Regions from separate parts of the Homo sapiens genome. Here all the other regions are linked to region 4. The links are contacts of gene promoters, found by promoter capture Hi-C in blood cells and fetal thymus (Javierre and others, 2016). All regions are on one chromosome and are shown on one strand. Each heading gives the region's core, a stretch centred on a gene start or on the middle of the fragment in contact. The rest is flanking DNA. Distances are from core to core; before and after follow the strand shown.

What was found. The method cuts DNA at HindIII sites, captures the fragments that hold promoters and counts their contacts. A CHiCAGO score of 5 or more calls a contact.
Region 1: a contact is called between a fragment that was not itself captured here and the fragment with the promoter of LINC02213 in region 4, in 1 of 17 cell types (neutrophils). The highest score is 5.1, in neutrophils.
Region 2: a fragment that was not itself captured here is called in contact with the fragment with the promoter of LINC02213 in region 4 in 7 of 17 cell types (endothelial precursors, M0 macrophages, M2 macrophages and 4 more); the score reaches 6.8 in endothelial precursors.
Region 3: a fragment that was not itself captured here is called in contact with the fragment with the promoter of LINC02213 in region 4 in 1 of 17 cell types (neutrophils); the score reaches 5.3 in neutrophils.

What each region holds. Positions count from the first base shown.
Region 1 is chr5:10,435,751-10,438,722 of GRCh38, forward strand. It overlaps MARCHF6 (membrane associated ring-CH-type finger 6), which reads left to right. Exons shown (of 26, transcript NM_005885.4): 26 at 1-2,972. Among named protein-coding and RNA genes, the nearest start is that of ROPN1L-AS1, 4.6 kb to the right of the region's middle. The HindIII fragment of the contact is 4,108 bases long and covers 1-2,972 here.
Region 2 is chr5:10,624,662-10,627,709 of GRCh38, forward strand. The region is part of intron 2 of ANKRD33B (ankyrin repeat domain 33B); the gene reads left to right. Among named protein-coding and RNA genes, the nearest start is that of ANKRD33B, 62 kb to the left of the region's middle. RefSeq lists an enhancer at 2,933-3,048. The HindIII fragment of the contact is 2,727 bases long and covers 1-2,717 here.
Region 3 is chr5:10,646,970-10,649,669 of GRCh38, forward strand. It overlaps ANKRD33B (ankyrin repeat domain 33B), which reads left to right. Exons shown (of 4, transcript NM_001164440.2): 4 at 2,297-2,700. Among named protein-coding and RNA genes, the nearest start is that of ANKRD33B, 84 kb to the left of the region's middle. The HindIII fragment of the contact is 8,941 bases long and covers 1-2,700 here.
Region 4 is chr5:10,520,635-10,523,334 of GRCh38, forward strand. LINC02213 (long intergenic non-protein coding RNA 2213) reads right to left here and starts at 1,450. Exons shown (of 3, transcript NR_134289.1): 1 at 1,122-1,450. The HindIII fragment of the contact is 13,630 bases long and covers 215-2,700 here.

The sequences.
Region 1 (2,972 bases), core at 12-2,511, 85 kb before region 4:
CTGTTGCCCAGGCTGGAGTGCAGTGGCACGATCCTGGTTCACTGCACCCTCTGCCTCCCAGGTTCAAGCGATTCTCCTGCCTCAGCCTCCCAAGTAGCTGGTACTACAGGTGCGTGCCACCACACCTGGCTTATTTTAGTTATTTTAGTAGAGATAGGGTTTCACCATGTTGGCCAGGCTGGTCTCGGAACTCCTGACTGCAGGTGATCCGTCCTCCTTGGGCTCCCAAAGTGCTGGGATTATAGGTGTGAGCCCCCACGCCTGGCCAACTTGATTATATTAATTTTGGGTTTTTTGTTTTGTTTTGTTTTGTTTTTTAATTTTTCAAAGAATTTGTGGATCTTGGTATAAAGTCATTGGAACATATCTGTTTTAACAGCAAGAGATCCTAGGCAGATACTTCAAAAGGTTAAAAATTCTTAATCCTACAGAATTTTAAATGAATCTTATCAATGTTTTGTAAACAAACAATATGAATGGCCAAAAAATTGCCCTCCATTTTACTGGCAGGTAATTTATATTGTCTTACTTAAGAATTCTCCCCTAGTTTTTCAATTGTACTTTATCGTGTTGTTTTCAATGAGATAAGTATTTTCATAGGGAAAGCATTTTCCAGCATAATATTTGCTTGGGTAGCATCCGGGTTTTAGTATTTAACCAAGAGCCTTTTAAATATTGAAAACCCATAGTTCAGAAAATGTTAGTATTGCTGCCCTTCTTCACATAAATTTTTTTTTAAATTATACTATTATTTTGCTTAATTTTATATTGGGTTAAAACAACCTTCAAGAAGGTTAACTAGGAAAGAAGACCTTTTTGTTTTATTTTTACTATTTATATATAGAAGACAAATCAGCATTTGGTGATAGTTTTACATGACCAGTTATCAAACGGTCATAGTATGAAGTGTGCAGTTGTTCATTATTAGTAAATTATGTTTGATTTTTAAACTATTTAGTACTAATAGTTGAGATGAAAACTGAAGAAAAATGCCAATGTGACGTTTGTGTATAGCTAGCCTTAAAAAACTTCCCATGTTTTTAGGTGACTTTTTTCCCCCTCTTAGTACTCTGGAGAAACAATGAAGATGGGCCATCTCAATTCCAGATGTAAACAAAAAGTAATTTTTATTTCAACATTTAATGTAACTGCTATTATTGTGGATTCTTGTCTTGTGTATTTTCTTTCCCTTATTCAAGTAATATAGAATAACTTTCCTTAAAATGATTTGATCCAAGATACGTCATTTCTGTATTGGCAAAATGCCACTATTAAAGTGTAATTCTTGAATTTAGGTTGAATTGATGACTTTTTAAAACAAAACAAACACTGGACAGTTCTACATTGTATTGCGTTTGCGAATGTGCGTGAACACACGCACACGTGCAGGAGAATGTAGTGCCATAAGAACACTGGCGCTTTTTAAAACTTTCCAAGCTAGCTACTTATTTTCATTTTCAGGGTTGAGTACTCTAAGCTCTCTACTTACTGTGAGAAGTTTTCTACATTGTAAAATTAAAAGATTATATTTAAAATACTTCTTTAGGATGTTATTCAGCCATCAAAAAAAAACCCAACTAAAATGTCTTACCAGTAAAGTATTATTAAAAGCCTCATTTGTGGAGATTCGCTGACTTCCTTGGTTAAGCTGTCTTGTATTTACTTAATTTGTCCCCTCAACCAGGTGTTTTCTTTTCAGCCTGTTACTGTCCTGTGCCATTTTTAAAAATAGCCATCATGAGTAAGGGCTTCTTTAAAATAATCCCTGACAATATCTTTGGCATTAATACGACATAAAGACAAGACAGTATATGTATGTTTTCATTCCTGTTTTGTACGAGTGCCTCATTTTGTAGTCATGAAAGTAACATAGTACCTTAAATAAAAATGTAATGACTAATCTAAGGTCTAGGAATAACTATTGTAGAAGCTAAGTAGAACACTTAGTTTGGGGTGTCAATTTTCTATCAACGCAAACACCTTAGGGTACCCAGACCAATTTTATGTATATATATTCTGAAATGCTCCCTTTTTAATGTGGTCATTTGTTGCCTTCTAAGTTGAGAGGACAAAACTGAATAAAGTGAATGTTAATTGTAGTCTAGTTTTTTTGTTTGTTTTTGTGTTATTGCAAGATTGCTTTAAGATTGCAGAAATATGCATTATTAGCCAGCATAGATAATCCAGATGTTATAATAGGAAGGAAAAACAACTCCAGTTAAATGTGACTGTGGCGACTCCCTTTTATGTATACATTTAAATGCATAGTTGCAGAGGACACATCCCTCCCCTTCTGTCTCCCTAACTTGAACTGTAGACCGTCCTCACTGGGAAGAGTAAGGCCCCACATTTTGTGCAATAGCAAGCTACTGCCCACTTCTGCATGTCTGCTACGAGATCAGAAAGTCAGTTTCACTAAGGTTGTCTTTTAGCTGAATACTTAGAGTAAAACCAATCAAATCCATTGTACATACCTGACCATATGTCCCAGATAAAAAGGAAAGACTTGCGTGATGTTTTTTTCCTTCTGAGTGCCCTGAGGAGATCCTTTTGCTTCAGACTATTTCTAATTTTTCTTTGTTTATAGGTTCAGAATTTTTTCCATGATTGTTTTCCCCCAAACAAGTGCATTTTTAATTACTTTAAATGCAGGGGTGATAGAGGAAATGCTATTCGAACCATAGACATCTTTAATCTGTGAAGCTGAAATTTTTCAGCAAAGGAAATTGCATGGTCAAGTTCAGAAACTGGCCATTAATTTCCCCCTTCCGCTCCACAGTTCATAGCTACTCTTGTTGCAAACATGTAGTGATAAGGAGAACTAACGTATCAAGGGGCTGAGAGGGTAACGTTCCCCTCCTCCTCCATGTTTTTATTTTGGTGTCTGTTTTGTTTCTAGCACTGTATTTAGTACTGTAGTTGAATGAGGTATGATGTCTCCCTTCAAGGAACTCAGAATGGAACAGAAGCAT
Region 2 (3,048 bases), core at 104-2,603, 100 kb after region 4:
TGTGTGTCTTAATTGCCTCAATGTGCCGAAGAGATTTTCCCTAATTTCTTTCTGAACCTCCAGGGGCTGCCCCTGTCCCCATGGGCATAGTTTCCTTAGACACTGGCTCCCAATCTTGCGCCTCCGGCGTCAGCATCACCTGGGCTGGCTCATGTGAGCATTAACACAGATCTGGTGGAAACACAGACTGCCAGGCCCTGCCCCTGGAGTCTTTCTTTGAATAGGCCTGGGGTGGGGCCCAAGAATGAGCAGATCAACAGGTTTCCTGGTGAGGCTGATGCCACTGGCCCAGGGACCCCACATTGAGGATGGAGAGCTTTGAAGATTTTATGCCTGATGACGGCAAAGGACCCCTCTCAGTGGGCACTGAAGACCAGCAGAGTCACAGACCCCACGAGAGATGTTGTCAGACAGACACAGAGGCATCACGGAATTAAAGTGAAAATGAGGAAGGCAGGTGAGCATGTGTTCATGACTTTCCTGTGCTGTTTTGCCAAAGAGGCTGTTTAGGCCCAATCAGGTGATGTCCCATTTTAATCAATTTCATAACCAGTTTTATTTCTTTGATGATTTGTTAATTTCAAAAGCTGTCCATGCATATTTGCTTACAGCCAAAAATGACTACAAAAGTATTATCAGGGAGGAAGAAAAAGATCCCTTCTCTGTCTTCCAAATATTCCAGCTCCCTTATCAGCACTCAGGAGTCACCTCTTCAGACCTCATTCAGTCCTTTCCAAACACACACGTATGTATGTGCGCTTTGTATTCACATGACTGGGCTAGTGCTGTTGAGACTGTGTTTTTAGTGGTTTTGTTCACATGGTTATTAATCTAGAAGCTCCTGCTGTGTCGGTGTCCCTGAGCCCTGCCAGGCGCTCGTAGCCCTGCCTTCCTGCACGGGGATGTGTGGCTCATGCCCGGTTCCCCACCAAGACTTCAAATTTGAGAGGCTGCGTTATGACTGGCCTTCACTCACTGTGGTGGACCCGGCTCTTAGGCCAGTCCTTGAACATGAAGTACTTGCTTCTTAAATATTTGTTGGAAAAGAGGATATTGTGTAAAATGCATGAACCGTGGTATACTTAACTGTCCCAGTTACTGGACAGGTGGGCTTTTGAGTTAATCAACGGCAGCAAGGCTGTAGTGAAGTCTTTGGATCTGGGGTGCATCTCTGAGGACAGCGTGTTAGGATCCTGGCAGCTTGAAGCATGTTGAGTGACAGGTGGTCTCAGAGGGCTGAACAGAGGAGTTGATGAGGGCCTGTCAATTACGGGGGGAAGGGTAGAGTTAAGGGAACCAACATTGAAAGGATTAAGGGGAGGGACTCTGCAGAGAGTGACCCAGGCCAAGAAGCTGGAACCCGAGAGGCAGCCTCGGCCTAGAACCCGAGTGACACAGGCCAAGAAGCTGGAACCCGAGAGGCAGCCTCGGCCTAGAACCGCAGCCAGGGGCCGGAGTGGGAGGCAGGGCCAGATGTCCCGCTCCTTCCACCCTGGTCCCCTGCTGAGCCAACCCAGAAACCTCATTGGGGCGGAAACTGGGCAGGTGCTGTTGGTGCAGGTCAGCTTCCTAGGCCGAAAGCAGGGCAAGGAAGAGGAGAAGCAATGTGCAGACACACTCTTAGAACAGAATTGCTTCAGCAAGGGCTGTGCCTGTTTTAAGTGTATGCAGCTGCCAAGTGGTCTTTAGAAAGCTGTGGCGATTTCTCCTTTCCCCTGAGTGTCCAAGAGTGTTCTTGCAAGCCCTGGCTGAGATCAGTCTTTTCAGTATTTCCCTACTCAAATGAACCAAAACTCTGGTTTTCAGTTGTATTTCCCCAGCTCTCTTTTGAGCCTAGTACCTGTTAGGATGCTTTTGGCTTCAACCACAAGGACACTGCCTTCTCTTGCAACACAAGACATCTGCGGGCGATGTTGCAGGGTTGCTTCACTGAGTAGCTGGGTGATGCTGGGACCTAGAGCCACTTCTCAGAAATACATTCGCCTTTTCCTTCATGGTCCCAAGGTGGCCCCAGCTGCTAGAAGTGCCACGGCTTCACGTTGCAACACTCAGGGACATCAAGGAAGAGGAGCAAATCCCTGTCGGCGTTTCCCTTTATAAGACAGGAAAACATTTCCAGAAGGCTCCAGCAGAGTATCGTTGCCATCTCACCAACCAGGGTTGCGTCACAAGCCCGTGCCAAACCAGTGATGGAGGATGGCTTGTGTAGACAGCAGTCGCACTAAGCAGAATCAGCATTGTGAAGCGCAATCTTAAAGCAACCATATGTTTATATTATTTGCTATGGCAACTGGGTTGGTTGTCTGAGAGTTGGAAGCTCTGGGTTTCTGGAGGACACAGCATTTATGAGTACGAATTCGGATGCAAATGCCTTCATCTGCCTTTTGAGTGTTCTCTAAAAAGTCTAATTTCCTCGGCTATTTAATGCACAATAAAAATACAGCCAAATCTGTACTAGGTCTGTAAATGGAGAGAACGTTTGAAAATAAATCCCCATGTAATCCCTAAGTCTCATTTAGCCAGTCATTTCAACTTTCACCACCGCTCCACTAACAAAAATAAAATAAGATAACCAAAGAAAGGAACAAGAAGTCCCATGGATAGAGTTGTGTGTTTATTTCTGTTTCCTTGTTGTGCTTTAACAGAATAGCATGGACGTGGTAAAGTGAGGAAACGCCAGGGGTCTCTTTGAGCTGGTGATGGGATACAGCACGTGAAGCTTGTTTTGGGTATAAGGAACCTCTGATGTGTGCTTGCAACTTGTTATTTCTTGCATTTAATTGTAAAATTCTGAGGCTACGTGCTGAGAGCCAGCCTGGCAGGATGCTGCCCGGGGACGGGGACAGAACGGGAGGGATTCTCAGGGGCAGCTGTGGGTTTGGGCTGCGGGGGAGCCCTGGTTCCTGAGCTGAATCGGGGAGAGTCCCAGTTCAGAGGAGAATTTATGACTTGGTCAGAACCCAGGAACAATGCCTCTTCATGTTATTTATCTTATTTTATTAGCAGTGCACACGATCACGATCTTAGTGTGATCTCATTGTGATGTTC
Region 3 (2,700 bases), core at 194-2,693, 130 kb after region 4:
CTGGGTCTGCATGGGATATAAATGAAGAAGCGTCTGTCGGGTCCGGTCCCCTTTGAGCTCACAGACTAGATAATTGCCCTAGTTCTCCATGTTGCTTTGCTGGTGGAGATATGACTAATGGGACTTGAAATCCTCAATGATTTTTTTTTTTTTGAAATGGAGTCTTTCTCTGTTAATCAGGCTGGAGTGCGGTGGTGCGATCTCGGCTCACTGCAACCTCTGCCTCCCGGGTTGAAGCGATTCTCCTGCCTCAGCCTCCTGAGTAGTTGGGATTACAGGTGCCTGCCACCACGCCCAGCTAATTTTTTGTGTGTTTTTAGTAGAGGTGGGGTTTCACCATGTATTGGCCAGGTTGGTCCCAAACCCCTGACGTCAGGAGATCTGCCCTCCTCGGCCTCCAAAGTGCTAGGATTACAGGTGTGAGCCACTATGCCTGGCCCCTCAATGATTTTTAACAGTATGTGGGACTGAGATTGGACCAAGATTAATTGAACAGCAATTCCGTATTAATTTCTATACTACAACATTGAAATTTATGCAGATTTCATCAAGTTGAGTTGAAGTTTAACTTTGCAATATTTGGGGGCAGTGGGTGGACTGGGGAGATTTATTAAGGGAGTGACTAGTGTCAGGGAGACTGTGTAAGGGGACCTATCAGTCAACCAATAGGATGTGGATATCAAGAGATTTATTTTAAGGAATTGGCTGTGTGGTTTGGGGGGTTGGTGAGTCTGAAACTGGTGCGGTAGGCTCGAAGGCTGGAAACTCAGGCAGCAGTAAGTAGATGCCGCAGTCTTGAGGTGGAATTTCTTTGTTTCCAGGAAACCTTGGTCTTTGCTCTTAATGCCCTCAACTAATTGGGCGAGGCCCACCCGCATTATGAAGGGTAATCTCCTTGACTTAGAGTCAACTGATTATAGATGTTAACCACAGCTGCAAAATACCTTTGGGGCAACACTTAGATCCATGTTTGATTAAATCACTGGGTATTCTAGCCTAGCCAAGTTGACATAGAAAACTAAAACTGACCATCACACCAGGACTGCCAGGTGGTAGGAAGTACATTAGACTGAGGTTAGGACACCCAAGTCTTAGACCCTCTCTCTGTTACTAGCCCACAGCCACTGTGACTGCCATTCTTTTTGCAACAAGCCTTTTAAAAATTCATGCCCCCTACCCACCAGGATGAAACGTGTTGAGCAAACAAAAATGAATTTTTCTATCCTGGAAAAGCCCACCATCGGTTAAAGGTAGACAGACCCCAGCCAGCTAGGCCGCAGTGGGAGAAGCGAAGGAACCACCCATTTCCCACAGTCCAGGACCCATGGCAGTCCTCAAGAGTGAGACCACAGCTGGGGTGCCACCACTTTGCAAGTGACTGTTACTGGTCATATTTTTAGAACTTTCTAGCCACAGCATTCAAGTATGCAAGGCAGCTTTGTTGTCTGGTCATCTCTCCATTGATGGAAAGCTATAGGATCTTATTTCTTTAAAAAATTCTGTAATTTGGCCAGGCGCAGTGGCTCACGCCTGTAATCCCAGCACTTTGGGAGGCCGAGGCGGGTGGATCACCTGAGGTTGGGAGTTCGAGACTAGCCTGACCAACATGGAGAAACCCCCTCTCTACTAAAAATACAAAATTAGCCTGGCGTGGTAGCACATGCCTGTAATCCCAGCTACTCGGGAGGCTGAGGCAGGAGAGTCGCTTGAACCCGGGAGGCAGAGGTTGCGGTGAACGGAGATTGTGCCATTGCACTCCAGCCTGGGCAACAAGAGTGAAATTCTGTCTCGAAAAAAAAAATTCTGTAATTTAGGTGCTGAATTCAGGCGGGGTTTTATTCAGGACAGATAATCAATGGAGCACTTAAAAGGCAGGTTGGGCTGGGCACGGTGGCTCACGCCCGTAATCCCAGCACTTTGGAAGGCGGAGGTGGGAGGATTGCTTGAACCCAGCAGTTCGAAACCAGCCTGGGCCACATAGCCAGGCCCCATCTCTACAGAAAATTACCTGGGCGGTGGTGTAGCCCCAGCTACTCGGGAGGCTGACTTGGGGGGATGGCTTGAGCCCCGGAAGTCGAGGCTACAGTAGGACGTGTTCCCGCCACTGCACTCCAGGCCCGCCTTCCGGCGCTCAGATGAGCACAGGGTTCGCAGAGTGAACTAGGTGCAGTCTGTTAGGAGGCTTGGGGCCAGGGGTGGGGGGTGGGGGCAGTTTTGCCTTTGCCCCAGGCTCTGCCTGGGAGGGAAGAGTCCTTGTTGCCGCCACCCACTTCTGTTTGTGTTTTGCGTTTTGCAGGGGCGGATGTCCACGCGAGGGACCCCCGCCGTGGGATGTCGCCGCAGGAGTGGGCCACTTACACGGGCCGCGTGGATGCCGTCCGTCTCATGCAGAGGCTGCTGGAGCGCCCCTGCCCGGAGCAGTTCTGGGAGAAGTACCGGCCCGAGCTGCCGCCGCCCCCTGAAGCGGCGCGGAAGCCCGCGGGCTCCAAGAACTGCCTGCAGAGGCTCACAGACTGCGTGCTGTCCGTGCTGACGCCGCGCTCCGTGCGGGGCCCGGAGGACGGGGGCGTCCTGGACCACATGGTCCGGATGACCACGAGCCTCTACAGCCCCGCCGTGGCCATCGTGTGCCAGACCGTGTGCCCTGAGAGCCCTCCGAGCGTGGGGAAGAGGCGGCTGGCGGTGCAGGAGATCCTGGCG
Region 4 (2,700 bases), core at 200-2,699:
AATCATGGCCGCACCCTTGCACAGAAGTCGTGGCTCCCTCCCTACTGGGGCAGTGGGCATCTCCTGGGGTCAACGCTCAGTTATGAATACATTGCTTAAACTTGATCGTTGTGAGTTTCACACCCAGTTGGGAAAAAAGACTGGTTTGGTCAGTTGGCATTTCAGGAGTATCTAAAATATTGAAGTGTATTTAATATTTCAGTGTACTAGCTCAAGCTTTTGTGTGTTTTCATAAAAAAGTTGCTGCCAAACATATTTTGAATACCATTTGTGAGGACGTATGGCTCTTTCCACGCCTCTCAAAGGCCAGGGAAAGCAGAGTTGGAGGAAACCTCCTTTCCTCTCCTTCTAGAGAGTCATTTAAAAGTAGTGAGTACTTTGAGAAAATGCTTTTGACTCTTGGTCCCTTTTTTTGAGTATTAAATCAATTATAGCCACACAGCAAGCCTGCATCTCCATTCTTCATCCAGGGGCCACCAAAAAAAAAATAAAGCAGCTGAACAAATATAAGATTCTGTACCATTTCCACCCCCTGGCCCCCCTGCCCCCCCGCCCCCCCCACAGCAGAAATGCTGCTTGTTTTTGGTCAATGGTCAAATGATAACCTGAAAGCTCAAGTTCCTTTTTTTTTTTTTTTTTTTGAGATGGAGTTTGGCTCTTGTTGCCCAGGCTTGAGTGCAATGGCGTGATCTCGGTGCACCACAACCTCTGCCTCCCGGGTTCAAGTGATTCTCCTACTTCAGACTCCCGAGTAGCTGGGATTACAGGCATGCACCACCACGCCTGGCTAATTTTGTAATTTTAGTAGAGTTGGGGTTTCTCCACGTTAGTCAGGCTGGTCTCGAACTCCCAACCTCAGGTGATCCGCCCCCAACCACCTGAGCAATTGCAAGTTGTAAGAGCTTTGGGTCAGAAATGCAGGTGTCTTCTGATCACCCAATTGCCGGGAAAGATGCCACAACAACACAAGAGGGAGGCCACTATCAGTTCCAGCGTCATCCCCACTAGTACCACTAGGGGGTCAGGCCACTCTGGCCACCATGGAATGCTCGTATGGTAGCCCTAAGTCATGGTTTTCCATTCACAGGGACAATGTGACCAATGAAGTAAGCAGTCAATACCTTTAGGACATCAAGGTGAACCATAATTGGGACACAGAAGTTTCTGGAAGAGGTAGGCTTGGGCAAGGCGGGTGAGCAGCAGGTTGTGTTTACCAAAAATGGCCATGATGCTGCCTTCTACACTCGTGTTCTTCTGCAGTGTGACTGTGTCATTCCCGCATGCAGAAGCAGAGTCTCTCCATCCCTGGGAACCCAGGGCTGGCCTGTGGCTCCCTTGTGACTGATAGGATGGAGTAGAATCGATGCCGATGATGTCCCAGGCTGGCGTAGTGCTACAATCCGAGGCCAGGGCAGAACAGGCCTGATGCTGAGGCCTGGTTCCCTTGGAACGTTCCCTTCAGGAAGTTCCTGCTCAGAACTCCGCCTCTGTGCTGCCAGAAGCCCAAGGTACAGGAAGCAGCCAGGCACTGGGGCTCATACACAGGCTTGGCTGAACCTGGCTTCCCAGGGCAGGGGTTAAGAGGGAAGAAGCCCCTGGAGGATGTCAGCCATGGCCATTCACAGCTTCCTGGCTGAGGCTTCATCCTCTCCAAACTCCTGACTTGCAGAATCCCTGGGCATGGGAAAATGGTTCTTGTTTGATGCCATCAAATGTGGGATGCTTGTTACGCAGCATAGATAACTATGGTAAACCCCGTGTCATGGGCACTGTTGGGTGATGCAGGTCTGGGAATGGGGACATTTGGTGAGGCAAGGCCCTTTGGATTCTGGTTAGGAGAGCGAGTTCTAGAGCTGCCTAGGTTCAAATCCAGTCTCCACCACTTACCAGCTCTGTGGCAGTGGGAAAGTGACTTAACCTCTCTGTGCCTTGCACGTCTTCCTCTGTGCAATGGAGGTGATAACAGTACACACCTGGGCAGGCTGTTTGAGGACCGAGTGTTGTTAGTGCCCGAAGAGCACCAGGCTCACGGGAAACGCTCATTCCGTGGTGTCACCTCTGATGGGCACAGGCCTAGGCCTCGACTGGACGGCTGGAAGACTGTGCAGGTCTAGAGGGTGCTTAGACTTGGCAGGCAATTGTATTTTTTTGTCTCACTAACTAAACTGGGAGAAGACAGTTATCTGTCTGTCTCTCATCATCTGTGCGTTGAGAATGTGGGGCATACAGAAAATGCTGTATTTTGACTGGAAGGAGTTGCAAGTTCCTGAAAAAAGCCTGCTGGTGGAATTGAGGCTGACATCAGGCCTGAGAAGGGGAGGGGAGGGCATTGGGGAGTGAGAGGGCTGGGCCTGGGCAAACGGGTTGGTATTGCTTTAGTGGGGTGCACGCACATGTGTGTGTGTGTGTGCACATGTTTGTGCCTGTGTGTGTGTGTCTGTATGTGTGTGTGAATAGAGAGAGGTGGCCCCTAGAAAGGGTGAGAGATGCTCAGTCAAAACTCAGATGTGAGCCAGATTTAGACAATGAAGGGCCCAGTAGGCCACACTCAAGCAAGGTTGTGGCAGGGATCATGATCTGTATTAGTCCATTTTCACACTCCTGTGAAGAAATACTCAAGACTGGGTAATTTATAAAGAAAAAGAGTTTAATGCACTCACAGTTCCACATGGTGGGGGAGGCCTCCCAATCATGGTGGAA